3 separate regions of the Homo sapiens genome follow, and all the other regions are linked to region 1. Evidence: promoter capture Hi-C in 16 types of primary human blood cells and fetal thymus (Javierre and others, 2016). All regions are on one chromosome and are shown on one strand. The core of a region is centred on a gene start or on the middle of the fragment in contact, and the rest is flanking DNA. Distances in the headings are between cores, read along the strand shown.

Region 1 (4,963 bases), core at 871-3,370:
AATCAAACACAAGACATACAAACTCATCAAGTATTTCCTTTTTTTTTGGAAAAAAAAAAAACACCTACTGATTGTGAATGGCTTTATTGGCTGCTTCCTTTAACTCCCACAACTCTCTGAAATAGATGTTATGAACTCTATTTTAATTTTCATCAAAATGGAGGCTTAGGTTAAGTAATCTGTCCAAGGCACAACTACTGTTAGAGCCAGGGTTTGAATCCAGCACAATATAAATCCCACTCATGGTTGTTTTGGTTTAATCTTGATTGGACTTAAATGACACCGTTCTTTTCTTTAACACCCAGACTGGAGTGCAATGGCATGATCTCGGCTCACTGCAACCTCCGCCTCCCGGGTTCAAACGATTCTCCAGCCCCAGCCTCCCGAGTATCTGGGACTACAGGCATGAGCCACCACACCCAGCTGATTTTTGTATTTTTAGTAGAGACAGGGTTTCACCATATTGGCCAGGCTTGTCTTGAACCCCTGACCTCAAGTGATCTGCCCGCCTCAGCCTCTCAAAGTGTTGGGATTACAGGTGTGAGCCACCGCGCCCGGCCAACACTGTTCTTTTCTGCAATCTATTCTTCTACTTAACAAAGATTAGAGGACTTTACAGTTGCCTTTTTTTTTTTTTTCCAGACGGAGTCTCACTCTGTCGCCAGGTTGGATTGCAGTGGCACGATCCCGGTTCACTGCAACCTCCGCCTCCCAGGTTCAAGCGAGTCTCCTGTCTCAGCCTCCCAAGTAGCTGGGGCTACAGGCGCGCGCCACCAGGCCGAGCTAATTTTTTGTATTTTTAGTAGAGACGGGGTTTCACCGTGTTGGCCAGGATGGTCTCAATCTCTTGACCTCGTGATCCACCCGCCTCGGCCTCCCAAAGTTCTGGGATTATAGGCGTGAGCCACTGTGCCTAGCCTGCCATTACGTTTGTAATCCCAGCACTTTGGGAGGCCGAGGCAGGCGGATCACGAGGTCAGGAGTTCGAGACCAGCCTGGCCAACATAGTGAAACCCCGTCTCTACTAAAAATACAAAAATTAGCCGGGCGTGGTGGCGCGTGCCTGTAGTCCCAGCTACTCGGGAGGCTGAGGCAGGAGAATCGCTTGAACCCGGGAGGTGGAGGCTGCAGCGAGCCGAGATGGCCCTACTGAACACCAGCCCAGGCGACAGTGTGAGATTCCTCTCAAAAGAAAAAAAAATAATAATCTTTCTGCCAGAGGTGAGAGAGCAGAAAAAAAATTAATCAGATTCTCAAATTCCTGTACGTCTCTTAGTAGAGACGGGTTTCTCCTTGTTGGTCAGGCTGATCTTGAACTCCCAATCTCAGGTGATCCGCCCGCCTCGGCCTTCCAAAGTGCTGGGATTACAGGCGTGAGCCACCGCGCCCGGCCACAAGACGTTTTATTGCAACATAAAAACAGGATGTAACGAGTCTTCCAATCACCAATGTAATTAGAGTTGGTTACCAAGTTTCCCCACGCGTCTTCCACCATGAGGGAGAAACGGACTGCAGACAAACCTAGCACCCCTTGAGCAGTTTAATTCGTACTATAAATATGTAGGCACCGTAAGGACGCGATTCTCCAGTTTGCCAGGCCTTTTTCTATCCTTTTGGGGGCACAAGGCGACCTTGCCTCCTGATTCAAAAACTTCGTAAACGTCAATCCTTCTACCCTTTTCTGGTCAGCCCACGAAAGCAGCAGCATGGCACAACTCCCAGCCTAGAGTTCGGGCACTGCCTGTCGTCAGCATAACGAAGAAACCTACACCCACGAAGACTTCAGACCCCACGTGATTACATCACTCAACCACCAGCGCTGGCCTGGAGGAACCCGCTGTCACGTGACCGCTCGTGCCCAATGACCGAGGCCCACGCTTTCCAGACCGCCACAGTCGCTGTCACAGGGCCTGAGTTTGGGCGGCGCCCCGCCCCGGCCGCACGGTGCGCCGGCGTTAATCCTCCCCGAAGGTTCCGGCAGCCAAGATTGCAGGTTCCCACCAAGCATTGTTTCCGAACTGGGCCACGAGAGCGTGTCCCTGATTGGCTTGCTCTGGAGGCTGGGAAGGGACCTGTTAGAGACTGGGACCACTTCCTGAAGCGCGAGGCAGGAAGTTATATGCTTTTTCTGGAGTCCTGTAGAGAAAGTGCTCTCTGCCGCATTGATAGCAGCGAGAGCTGGAGGTGTTGGGTCGGGAGACCAGCCGTTCGATCCCGCCGCAGGTAGGAGCTGGTTTCCATCCTGGCACCACGGCACACACCTCCAGCCTCGAGCCCGGCGCTGCTGCCCGGGGGTCTCCTTCAGGCTCTTTGACGCCGTTCCAGGGGGCACCTATCCAGGCATCCTCTGGGCCTCTAGCCAGAGGACTGGCTCCCGGCTTCAGCACTCCGGGCTGCAGTAAGAAGTGCCCTTATCGCTCTGAGCCCTGCCACCATCCCGTGAACCACCGAAACCCTGGTCCAGCGCGACAGCCTTGGACCTGGGACTGGACGGATCCAAAACGCTCAGCCTCGGCCCCCCACAGACGGGGCTCTGCATCGTCTCTGATATGTCACCCACCATCTCCCACAAGGACAGCAGCCGGCAACGGCGGCCAGGGAATTTCAGTCACTCTCTGGATATGAAGAGCGGTCCCCTGCCGCCAGGCGGTTGGGATGACAGTCATTTGGACTCAGCGGGCCGGGAAGGGGACAGAGAAGCTCTTCTGGGGGATACCGGCACTGGCGACTTCTTAAAAGCCCCACAGAGCTTCCGGGCCGAACTAAGCAGCATTTTGCTACTACTCTTTCTTTACGTGCTTCAGGGTATTCCCCTGGGCTTGGCGGGAAGCATCCCACTCATTTTGCAAAGCAAAAATGTTAGCTATACAGACCAAGCTTTCTTCAGTTTTGTCTTTTGGCCCTTCAGTCTCAAATTACTCTGGGCCCCGTTGGTTGATGCGGTCTACGTTAAGAACTTCGGTCGTCGCAAATCTTGGCTTGTCCCGACACAGTATATACTAGGACTCTTCATGATCTATTTATCCACTCAGGTGGACCGTTTGCTTGGGAATACCGATGACAGAACACCCGACGTGATTGCTCTCACTGTGGCGTTCTTTTTGTTTGAATTCTTGGCCGCCACTCAGGACATTGCCGTCGATGGTTGGGCGTTAACTATGTTATCCAGGGAAAATGTGGGTTATGCTTCTACTTGCAATTCGGTGGGCCAAACAGCGGGTTACTTTTTGGGCAATGTTTTGTTTTTGGCCCTTGAATCTGCCGACTTTTGTAACAAATATTTGCGGTTTCAGCCTCAACCCAGAGGAATCGTTACTCTTTCAGGTAGTGTATTTAAGCTATTATGGTGTTAGGTTTATTTATCCTTTTGAAAGAGTGTGTGACGTTGGAGGGAAGCTCATTAATTTACTGGAAATCATTGTATGGGAGATAACTCAAGGTAAGTTTTCTGTTTCGTCCAAATGAGCTTCTTTGAAATATTAAAGCCAAAATGAATGATATTAGAGCAATCAAATGATCACTATGCGGTTAACAGGGAGAGGCAACCCATCAAATAACACAACCGAGTCCAGGGATTCATGCCACTTGCTTAATACACAAATGCACACTTTTAAAAAGTGTGGCTCATATGGTTCACATTTTTCCTTTTGTCTTGTTGGTTTTAGGTTTCTAGCTCTATACTTTCTAATCCATTTCTACCCCTACCGTTGTACCCAGAATCCAGCCTTCTAGTGAATGGAACAGGGTTTATTCGTTCAAACATTATTGAACCAGCTAAGGGACGGGATTCTAAGGCCTCTAATGAATAAGGCAGAGTTCTGCACTCAAGAAATAAGGAAGATGAACATTTTAGGAGAGTTCAGAGTTGCCAGTTAGTAACTGCCTTTGGGAGTCAGGCTTCACATTGCAGATAACATTTGACTTTGTTCTTGAATAAGATTCCACGAGGCCAGGAAATGGCACACCAGAATGCACAACACAAAGTAAAAGTGCACTGAGGCAGGAAAGTACAAAAAAGTACAGGACATTGCCTAAATTGTGGAACTGGGTTTGGGAAATCGTGCTGAGAAAGGCTGTGACTAAATTAGTAAGATTTTCTTTAATTACTATGGGAAAAGAGTTTAAAGTTTGTCCTGTAAGTAATGGAGGGTAAGTTCTAAAAAATTTCCCTGTTTCTCTGCATGAGTAAAACACATGTAAGTTTTTCTCTTTTTTCTTTTTTCTTCTTTTTTTTAATTGAGATAGTTGGGGGTCGGGGGGGCTGTCTCACTATGTTGGCCAGGCTGGTCTTGAACTCCTGGCCTCAGGTGATTCTCCCCCTCCTTGGCCTCCCAAAGTACTGGGAATTATAAGTGTGAACCACCCCACCTGGCCTAAGCTTTTTTGTTTGTTTGTTTGTTTTTAACTTTTGTAACAACTAGAAAACAAGTAAAATGACCAATATCAGGAATAACAATGTCAGGAATATAGTGAAATTCTTCATTCTGTCAGTGATGATGAATTTAGGGGATTCTGTTTTGAAATTTAAGCAACTGAACTTCTCAGCTTCTGTGCTACCTTGGAAATTCACAGTAGAGTAAATGTCCAGGTATGTGGTGGTGGTAGGAGGTGTCACAACTACACTATTTTCCTGCAATCTTATTCTCACAGACATCTAACCTTATGTACACCTCCTCAAACTGCTAATGAGTGAGCCACTATTACTGGTGAAATGATGGTGATAGTACTTTTTCCTCAGTTGTTTGGTTGAGAGATAATTGCTTTGCACCCAGGTAGATTTGTCTCAGTGTTCTGGGGTTCCACTCCTGCTTTATGAATAATTCACTGCTGGCCGGGCACAGTGGCTCACACCTGTAATCCCAGCACTTTGGGAGGCTGAGGTGGGAGGATCACTTGAGGTCAGGAGTTTGAGACCAGCCTGGCCAGCATGGCGAAACCCCATTTTTGAGACTCTGTCTCAAAA
Region 2 (4,963 bases), core at 1,366-3,865, 1.3 Mb before region 1:
GTATATTTCCCATTTTGTTCTGTAGGATAAATCACACAAATTTTCGGTGGTTCCAATACAGATTTAGCAAAAATTTAATTTAAAACATTCTGTTCTTATGGTTTAGATTCCGTTGCCAACTCGTCCCCATTGGTTTCTTCTTTTTGGTACTACAGAAGAGGAAATCCAGGAAATCTGCATAGAAACACTTAGGCTTTATACCAGAAAAAAGGTATTCTCTATTTACTCGTTTGTGCCAACATGCTAAGAGTCCAAGCTACTCTAAGGAAGAAATACTAACTTTTTTTTCCTCCAACAGCCAAACTATGAATTACTGGAAAAAGAAGTAGAAAAAAGAAAAGTAGCCTTACAAGAAGCCAAATTAAAAGCAAAGGGATTGAATCCGGATGGAACTCCAGCCCTTTCAACCCTGGGTGGATTTTCTCCAGCCTCCAAGCCATGTAAGATGTATTTAGAATTAAAATGACTTGGGGGCACTGAAAGTGTGTCTTTATTAGAGAGCTTTTACATTTGAAAGTTGCATAGAGAAAAATGATGTTAGGAAACTGCTGCTATGTTCTCTCATGGCAGTCAACCAACATGGAAGCGGAAGCATGGTACTTTGAGTTACATTTAGAAACAACTTTTGGCCCTCTGTTAAATCCAGTAGTTAACATGTTGTTATTATATCTTTTAAAAGCATCACCAAGAGAAGTAAAAGCTGAAGAGAAATCACCAATCTCCATTAATGTGAAGACAGTCAAAAAAGAACCTGAGGATAGACAACAGGCTTCCAAAAGCCCTTACAATGGGTGAGTATACTTGGGCTGGAAAACTGGCTTGAGGAATCTTTTATGTGTTTACTTTTTAACACACTAAGTTTGTAACTAATATGTCATGATTTTTTGAAGTGTAAGAAAAGACAGCAAGAGAAGTAGAAATAGCAGAAGTGCAAGTCGATCGAGGTCAAGAACACGATCACGTTCTAGATCACATACTCCAAGAAGACAGTAAGTAAATGTTTTCTTAGGGAAGCAGTCTTATTTGGAGTTTTTAAAGGTTATTGCTTTTTCTTTAAAAATTGAACATAGATTATTTTCAAAGTTAGGTTAGAATTAGGCTTTTAGTATGAGGCAAATTATGAGAAATGAGTTTGGAGATGTTCTGGACATACAGTATCTTAATGGCATTCTGTTATATTTTCTCCCATGTTTTTTGGAGAAGTGTAGGAGCTACCCACAAAGTGCTTGAGGGCCATAGTATTGTTCATAATGTGAAAACTTCTTTTTTTTTTTTTAATTTCAGTTAGAAAATGTGTTTCATTAACCCCTTATTAATAACCAATAATCAAATTAACCAGTCAATGAATCTTCTTTAGTTAGGCCTGTAATTAGATTGTTAGCTCTTCGTGGCTCTTCAATGTCTTTTGAACATGTGGGAGATACTTAATAAAAAGCATAGCTCTAGGACACTATAAAAATTGCTAATTACTCCCCTTGGAATAAAGACATAAGAACATTTGCTTAAGATTTAATATGTTATATATAGGCTTGGGCATACAGCAGTGAGGGGTGGGGAGATTTTGAAAAGTTCTGGTTTGTCATTTATGTAGCTGGTAGTTTTGTTTTGAACCTGTTATGAGCAACCACCGGAATAATCTGTTCCCCATAGAAACTGAACCTAAACTTCAAATTTTTATTATCTAAGCTATAATAATAGGCGGAGTCGATCTGGAACATACAGCTCGAGATCAAGAAGCAGGTCCCGCAGTCACAGTGAAAGCCCTCGAAGACATCATAATCATGGTTCTCCTCACCTTAAGGCCAAGCATACCAGAGATGATTTAAAAAGTTCAAACAGACATGGTCATAAAAGGAAAAAATCTCGTTCTCGATCTCAGAGCAAGTCTCGGGATCACTCAGATGCAGCCAAGAAACACAGGCATGAAAGGGGACATCATAGGGACAGGCGTGAACGATCTCGCTCCTTTGAGAGGTCCCATAAAAGCAAGCACCATGGTGGCAGTCGCTCAGGACATGGCAGGCACAGGCGCTGACTTTCTCTTCCTTTGAGCCTGCATCAGTTCTTGGTTTTGCCTATCTACAGTGTGATGTATGGACTCAATCAAAAACATTAAACGCAAACTGATTAGGATTTGATTTCTTGAAACCCTCTAGGTCTCTAGAACACTGAGGACAGTTTCTTTTGAAAAGAACTATGTTAATTTTTTTGCACATTAAAATGCCCTAGCAGTATCTAATTAAAAACCATGGTCAGGTTCAATTGTACTTTATTATAGTTGTGTATTGTTTATTGCTATAAGAACTGGAGCGTGAATTCTGTAAAAATGTATCTTATTTTTATACAGATAAAATTGCAGACACTGTTCTATTTAAGTGGTTATTTGTTTAAATGATGGTGAATACTTTCTTAACACTGGTTTGTCTGCATGTGTAAAGATTTTTACAAGGAAATAAAATACAAATCTTGTTTTTTCTAAACTGCTTCAAATACCTTATTTAAATAAATTATTAAAAAGGAAAATTTTAATAGCAAAATGGCTGTACTGGTTTTCTGACAAACTTATTCTTTCCTCCATTAGATGGTAGTTTGAGATTATTAAAATGCAATTCTTAACTGCATTGTGAGCTATTGTAAGTCTTCACTGTATATATGGAAAAAGTAAATGGGAGTCGCCCAACAATGTGACATTAAATGTTATATTTTAGCACTAAACCAAAAAACCTGATTTGCTTTTGAATGGTGTCATAAGGTAATTTTGAGTCAGATTTAAGTACTATTTCTGAAATGAGGTACCCTATTGAATGAACCAAAACTTAGTAACTATTGAGCTTTAACAGTTCTGTATAATTTAGGCATTTAATGTTACGATTTTTACGTAGGCTAGGAGAAAATGTGAGGCCCCTGAACTTGAGTGGTTGATAGAATACAAGCTGATCACAAAGAAGTGAAGTTTTGATGAAAAAGCCGGAATTTCTATCCAGATGAATGTTTTCAAGTTACTCACATTTACTATTTTTTTCAACATTTTGGAAATCAGTTTACAGAGTCAAAATGTTGCATCGCTTTATAATTACACTAAGGTCTCCATTACATTTATTTTACCTACTTTAATTGTCCACTAGACTTGGCTCCAAGTGATTTGTTGCTGTTTCAAGAAATAAAATACACCCACAAAGAGGAAGATGTATTACTGCTAAGGATATTTTTAAAAATAAAGTTACAGCTTCTGAAGAGGAGATTCCAAAGACTTAAAATGTGTTCACCAATGGCAGGTGGTGGAGGCTGGAAAAAATAGCTTCACAAGGCAACTACTTTGAAGGAGATTAAGATTCATTAGGATATAAAAGTGTTGGGTGTGCTACTTAAATCAGTTATAGTTCTAACTATAAAGACTAACCAGAAACTAACAAGACCCAGCAAAAGTTAGCCACTTCATGCTTGAAAGAGGGTAGATAGTTCATTAAGACTTCTTTCTGCCTGATTTGTAATACACATTGCTGAATTATAAATAGATATTTCTGAAAAGCTAACTGCTTCTAAATGCTGAACAGTTTGCTTCCCCTACAAGATAGACATTGAAGAAAGGCAAAGGCAAATGTCAGCAAAGGCCCTGTTAGCAAATTAATGTTGATTTTTTTTTTTAACTTTTTTTTTTTTTTTTTTAGAGACGAGGTCTTGCTACGTTGCCCAGGTCGGTCACGAACTCCTGGCCTCAAGTGATCCTCCCACCTCAGCCTCCCAAGTATTAAATTCTTAATAGTGTTGAAATTACTTATGTCCCTAATCTTTGCTTGGAAATAGGAGTGCTGTGGGTGAGGGTTGTTTGTGAAGATGGGGAGTTGTGGAGGATACACCTGCATGTGGAATGAGGTTTGTATGTTAAAGGTGTTTTTAGAGGTGGCTTTGTGGGCTAGGCAAAGATCTTTTTCAGGGTCTTGATTTTTATCTTATTGTCTGTTACTGAATCCGTTTTCTAAGTTGTCAGGATGTTAACCTCATGCCACTCTATGGCTATTTAAACACTTTCTCTAGAAGTAATACTCATTTTCAAACTTATTTTGAGAAACAAAGTTGTGCAATACCAATAATACCTGTTTATTAACTCCAAAATAGCAAAACTTAATCTGTACCCCACCAGTTCACCACTCCACCTCCCACCCTTGCTATTGGGAAGAAAATCCCATACAAGTAAAGTTTGTTCCCAAGTGTCTCAGTCCACAAGGTTGAGGATTTTTAAAACATAACCATATAGCTTTATTGTAAGAGTTAAAAGTAATGCCATACTACCCCTGTCAGTATCCAGAGAGCCCTCATCTCTAATTTGTTTTAACTGATTTGTTCAAAGTCCAAATATGTTGCATCGGCTTTAACCACAGGCCTCTCCATATTTCTTACTTGAAGAAATTGGGTCATGTCCTGAAGAATTTTTTGTCTCCTGGGTTTGTTCATTGTAACTCTGTGCTGTCACTGAACACATTTTTCTGTCCACTGTGTGGTAAAGTGGTAGATCTTGAGGCTTGATCAGATTTAGGTTTAATTTTTTTACTTGTCTGGAATTAGAAGCCTGGACACCCAGACTGTTATTTTAGAACTGAAAACTAGGTTGCTGCCTCATCCACCAGGTATTTTACTGAGTTCTCAGTTCTTATCCATTGGTGCTTGTACCTCACTGGCTTTTGTATCTGTTTTTCCCTCTGTTCTCTGTCTCATGTTTTGGTTGGCCCATTACAGCAATGAAAATGTTATTTGTCCTAATGATCCTGATACTTTTTTTCTTTAAATGACCCACAAATTAAATCCCGTTTTGGTTTTTTTTTTTTTTTTTTTTTTTTTTTGAGATGAAGTCTCGCTCTGTCTCCCAGGCTGGAGTGCAGTGGCACGATCTCGGGTTACTGCAAGCTCCCACTCCCAGGTTCATGCCATTCTCCTGCCTCAGCCTCCTGAGTAGCTGGGAATACAG
Region 3 (4,963 bases), core at 1,203-3,702, 1.2 Mb before region 1:
TTCCAGAACAAAGGACTGTTACCTTCCCAGGCATGCCCTCTCGACTGCTTCAGACTCTGGCTGTACCAGCTCCACTCACCACATAATAAAACTCTTGGGGTATGAAGGAGGATGCACACCACCCTGTCTTGGCTCCAACTGGCCACTTCCTGGAAACTCTGGGATTAGGTGGCTGGCCACTTTCTTTGCAGGGCTCCTAATGTGTCACCAGCCACAGTTGTTGGTGCTTAGGTAACTGAGGGAGCTGTCTTCAGTTCAGACTTCTTAAAGACCCCATTTCATGTTACATAACCCTCAACCTATAATCCCTGCTTTCCCATTTCCTGTTTCCTTTCTCTCCATAGCATTAATCAGCATTTTGATACACAATATATAGCAAAACGTATAGCTTACTTTAGGAGTAAGCTCCTTGAGGTTTTAGTCTGCTTTGCTTGAGCAGTGTCTGGTAGGTGCTCAGTGACTGCCTGCTGAATGCATGACTGGAATGACCACGACCTTGAACATCAGCACCAGAGTACACATACCGAGGTGTTGGGAGGACCAGGAATTCTTGTTCTCTTCTGTCACAGGGCTCAGCTGTCAAAGATTTCCAAACCTCCTCCATCTTAGCCACAGCAATAAAGGGTCTACAAGTTCATTCTCGGCACTGCACTGGGCACCATGGGAAATGCAAACCCTTCAGGCAGCTTAGTATCCCAGCTTGTCTCTGAGCCATCACCCCCGGAAAACGAACTGTTCCTCTTGCAAGCCCTCATTATGCCCTTATACCCGCAGCATAGAGCTCTGTGTTCTCCATCTGTCTCCATTCTTCCCAGACATGAGCCTGTCTCACTCATCTTCACATCCCCAGTGCCCAGCACAGTGCGGAGAAGCTATGAAGGGTGTGATAAATATTTGATGCATAAATGAATACCTGGGATCCCACATGCAGAGAAAGCCAGCCCCTTCTGAATTAATTATGTGACTCAGACACTAGAGGATGATGAGTTTATTTCCTTTATTATGATTAATACTTTTTTTCCCAAAGAGTTTTTCAATTCTGAGATTTAAGTTTTATATATTGTAAATATCAAGATATCCTTTATGAAACAATATTCTTTCCAAAAGACAGCATAAATTTTGGAGTAAAACTGATGACTATGTTTCCTTTTTCTAGACTTTAAATATCTCCTTTTACTTAGGGCTGATTTTAAAATCATGTGGATTTAAAAATTTATGTGGAAGTGTTTTGTGACATTGAAAATAAGAGTCTGTGAAGAAAAGCTGATGCTGCCATTACGATCTCTTTGTATCTGGAATAATTAACTTTTGTTTATTACAAAAACCTTTTTTAAAAATAGGCAATAAATTAATTGTGCAGTTCATCTTGGATTTAGGAGAAGTTGATTCTATGGTTTTTTTTTTCTTTCTTTTTGTAGAGACAGAGTCTTTCTCTGTCACTGGACTGCAGTGGTGCAATCATAGCTCACTGCAGCCCCTAACTCCTGGGCTCAAGCAATCCTCCTGCCTCAGCCTCTCAAGTAGCTGGGATTACAGGTGTGAGCTACCATGCCCAACAAGAAGGTGATTCTTAAAAAAGAGAAAATAATACACAGAGAAAAAGTAAAACAGTTATTGTCTTCACATCAATAAAAAGGGAGACTGAGCATTTCCTAAGTGGAACTATTTATAGCTTATACCAAGCTTTAAACTATACTAGATATTTAGTTGATTATATTTCCCAACTCTAATTATTAAAATTAATTTAATCAGTGTGGGAAGAAAATTTAAGAGGGAAAAATAAATCTGCTTTATGATTTTCAAAGTTAGTTTTCTACACTGATCGATGTATGAATAAGTGCTCAGGTGCCAATTCATTTCCTGCCATGGAGATACTGTGCTTTCTGAGTTTTAGAGAGTTAAACTCCAGAAGGCAATAGTGGTTCTATCTGTTGTGCCTGCCTACCCAACATTCATTACCCCATTTTTCTGCTCACAGCCTTTTGATTTTCTTTAGGGGAGCCACCTCTCACTCCACTTTCAGTTCATGACGCTAGGAATAGTTATGTGACCTGGGCTTGGCCAATCAGGGCTTGGTTCAGAGATGGGTACATTACCAAAGCTAAGCCAATGTGAGCCTGACTGGGATTTTGCAGGCACTATTAAGAAAGAGATTCTTTGCCCTTTGGTATGCTGATGCTTGGAGCTTCTACCTGAGAGTGAAACTAACACAAAGAAAGCTGACAGATGGTAAATTCAACTCATACTGCAACTTGGATGTGCCAATAAAATGTAATTTCTCTAGTTTGTCCATAACCAGTCTGGTCCTTCACTAGTTAGGGTTTAAATCTTGATTCAATCCAATAATTCAATATCCCCATTGAGAACATGCTCGCTTTCTCAGATGGCTTCCTCTTTCTCCTTCCCCTCCTATAAAGATGCCATCTGGATGCATGGCCAATATTCAACAGGTACATGGCATTATGGCTGCCCTCATTGATAAAATACTAAAGTATGCATGGAGCAGTTGGTAAACAGGTTCTGCCCTGAGGTCCCTGCTCCTCATAATCCATCAACTAAAGGGTTAACTCTGGACATAGTAAGACATCTCCATTTATACTCCTCAGCGCCTGAGCCTGTAAGGATTTTTAAATGTTTTGATCGTCATCCAGGTAGGGTGTGCTGGGGTGGAGGTAGTATGGTGGTGTGTGTCTTTTCTGTGTCCTCATGGTGTTGAGAGGAAGGGAACTTTTGTCCTTGTACTGGTCCTTGAGCATAGCTGCCTTGTATGTGATTATTTTGAGACAACATCCACTTTTTGTCTGTCCTGGGTGCACTGCAAGCCTCTGATGTGGGGGTCTGTGGATGGGGAGCTTGTGTCCATCTGAGGTGATCTGAAGCAGTGCTCCCAAAGGTGTTTCCTGACTGGCTTAGCTCCTTCTCTGCTTTTCCTGCTGCTACAGACTCCGACTTCTGTCCATGACTTCCTATCAACCCTGGTCCCAGGGGTCTCCTCGGCAGCCCAAACCACTGAGTCACCTCACTACAATGATCACCTCTGGCAAGCTGGCTACAGGCTTTCTGCTATGTCTGGGTAGAATCTAGCCTTCCCAGGGACCTGACAGAGCTTGAAAAGTCCATAGCAGGGCCTGCTGCTACCCGACCAACACTGGGCTCTTCCTCTCATAATTCTGGAGGGGGCGTGGGGGAACGATCTCCCTCTGCCTTTGTGGTTAAGCTTTACTTTTCCAATACAATCTCTCCACTCAGGCCTCTTGTTTATTCTGCTACTTCTGTCCTCTGATAATCCCCACTTTCTCCTGGTCTAGACCTTTCGAATATAAAACCCTAAGGTTTAGTCTACCAAGCTCAGTTCTTGACCCTCTGAAGAGGAAGGTAATGGAATGTACAGGATATTTTCTCAAGGTAAGGGCTTGAATTACATGGCTATTGCCTTGCTACAAAATTTATTTTTGAATGCCAGAAGCTGAGTGTTATGTTTTCTTTCTCTTTGCATACTTTCTGGAAAGAACTTTCATTTCTTCCTAGGCAGATAAATGCCTAGAGTAGACTAAGTTCATATGCTTTGAAAGGCAAAAGAGAAAACTACATTGATAATTTCAAAACATTATGCCTATCATACATGACAACACCTTTAAAGCACCTGAAATCTAACTGGGCCTAAAGCCAGTCTACCCAGTTTTTAGCAAACCCATGGATCCCGTGGTTAGAGCTGGGTTTCAGTCACTTGCTACCCATAGTCCTGACTGACATGGTAATAACAGTATCCATTTCACATTATTTGAATAGCACTGGGCACAGCTCCACATGCAAATGGGTCTGATTAAATGCATTTGATGGTAAGATTACTGCCAGGGTTAGATCCTGACACAGATAAACCTTGCTTAAAGAGCTCCCCAAGTCCATTTCTAAACCTCCCATGTACGTTTCTTCCTTTCCAGTGGTAGAAAAAAAATAACCAAGGAAGAGGATCCCTTCCTTTGGGTTATCTGGGGCCAGAATCCCCTCTTCTGTCACTCACCCTGTGGTGGTGCTGGGGGTTGTACTGAGACTCCAAGTTATTTCTCCTTGCTGACCCCTCCTGCTTCCCCTTTCCTATAAGCTCGTTCCAGTTTCCCATAGTTGCAAAAACAAAACACAACAAATAAAACAAAACGACAATGAATAAAGGAAACTCTCCCTGCCTCCCCTTTTAGCTGTAACTTCCCCCTCCCTGCCTAACCAACTCTCTTGAAGCAGTGGTTTATACCCACTACCCCTGCCTCTTCTCTTCTTTGACTCCATTTTGCTTCTAACCTAGTGTGATTTTGTTTCTGCCCTCACATCCCCACTAAAACCAATGTCTCACAAGTAATCAATGACTTCCTCATTGTCAAATACAACAGACATATTCCGGTGCTCATTTGCTTCACATCTCGGTGGCATTTCCCACTCCTGACTACGTCTTCAACCTGGAGAGTCTTGATGTGAACTGCTTGATGCCACTTTTTTCTGGTTTTCTTTCCATTTCTCCATCTGTTCCTCAGGATCTCTTATTTGATCCTTAGGATCTGGTATCTGTCAGGTTTGGGTTTCATGCTTTCATAGTCTTTTCATTCTGCCTGCTCTTCTGGGCCATCCCAGCCCTGCCTTGGCTTCAGTGACCATCTTTAAGTTGACTGTTCCCCAGTGGGCACCTCCAGGCCTCTCTCCTGTGCTTGGAACTCATGTTCCTAACTCTTCCTGGAGGTCTCCACCTGGATGTCCTACAGCCACCTCAAACCCATGTTCAAAACATGCCATCTTCCTCTCAGGTCCATTTCTGTTCCTCTACTTGCAATCACAGTAAATGGTATCAACATCCATGAAGCTGCACAAAGAACCCGAGAATCCTCCCGGATTTCTATTTCCTTTCCCCTTTCCCTGCCTACTGAGGCAGAACCTTGTACCTGGCAGTATATCAGATATCCACCCAGAGTAGTGT

Evidence for each region. Contacts are between HindIII fragments. The CHiCAGO score rates a contact against its expected background, and 5 or more counts as called.
Region 2: a fragment that was not itself captured here is called in contact with the fragment with the promoter of SLC33A1 in region 1 in 2 of 17 cell types (naive CD4 T cells and total B cells); the score reaches 8.8 in naive CD4 T cells.
Region 3: a contact is called between a fragment that was not itself captured here and the fragment with the promoter of SLC33A1 in region 1, in 1 of 17 cell types (naive CD8 T cells). The highest score is 5.3, in naive CD8 T cells.

Annotation. Positions count from the first base shown.
Region 1 is chr3:155,851,584-155,856,546 of GRCh38, reverse strand. It overlaps SLC33A1 (solute carrier family 33 member 1), which reads left to right and starts at 2,120. Exons shown (of 6, transcript NM_004733.4): 1 at 2,120-3,324. The coding sequence starts at 2,550. LOC105374174 (a long non-coding RNA gene) reads right to left here and starts at 1,794. Exons shown (of 3, transcript XR_924607.4): 1 at 1,469-1,794. RefSeq lists enhancers at 1,533-2,092, 2,463-2,532. The HindIII fragment of the contact is 4,607 bases long and covers 1-2,879 here.
Region 2 is chr3:157,145,313-157,150,275 of GRCh38, reverse strand. CCNL1 (cyclin L1) reads left to right here. Exons shown (of 11, transcript NM_020307.4): 7 at 107-211; 8 at 299-440; 9 at 680-791; 10 at 891-989; 11 at 1,687-2,723. The coding sequence ends at 2,035. Among named protein-coding and RNA genes, the nearest start is that of CCNL1, 12 kb to the left of the region's middle. RefSeq lists a silencer at 1,510-1,659. The HindIII fragment of the contact is 5,483 bases long and covers 1-4,963 here.
Region 3 is chr3:157,090,469-157,095,431 of GRCh38, reverse strand. The region is part of intron 3 of LINC00880 (long intergenic non-protein coding RNA 880); the gene reads left to right. All of the region lies in intron 1 of LINC00881 (long intergenic non-protein coding RNA 881), which reads right to left. Among named protein-coding and RNA genes, the nearest start is that of LINC00881, 3.1 kb to the right of the region's middle. The HindIII fragment of the contact is 1,534 bases long and covers 1,686-3,219 here.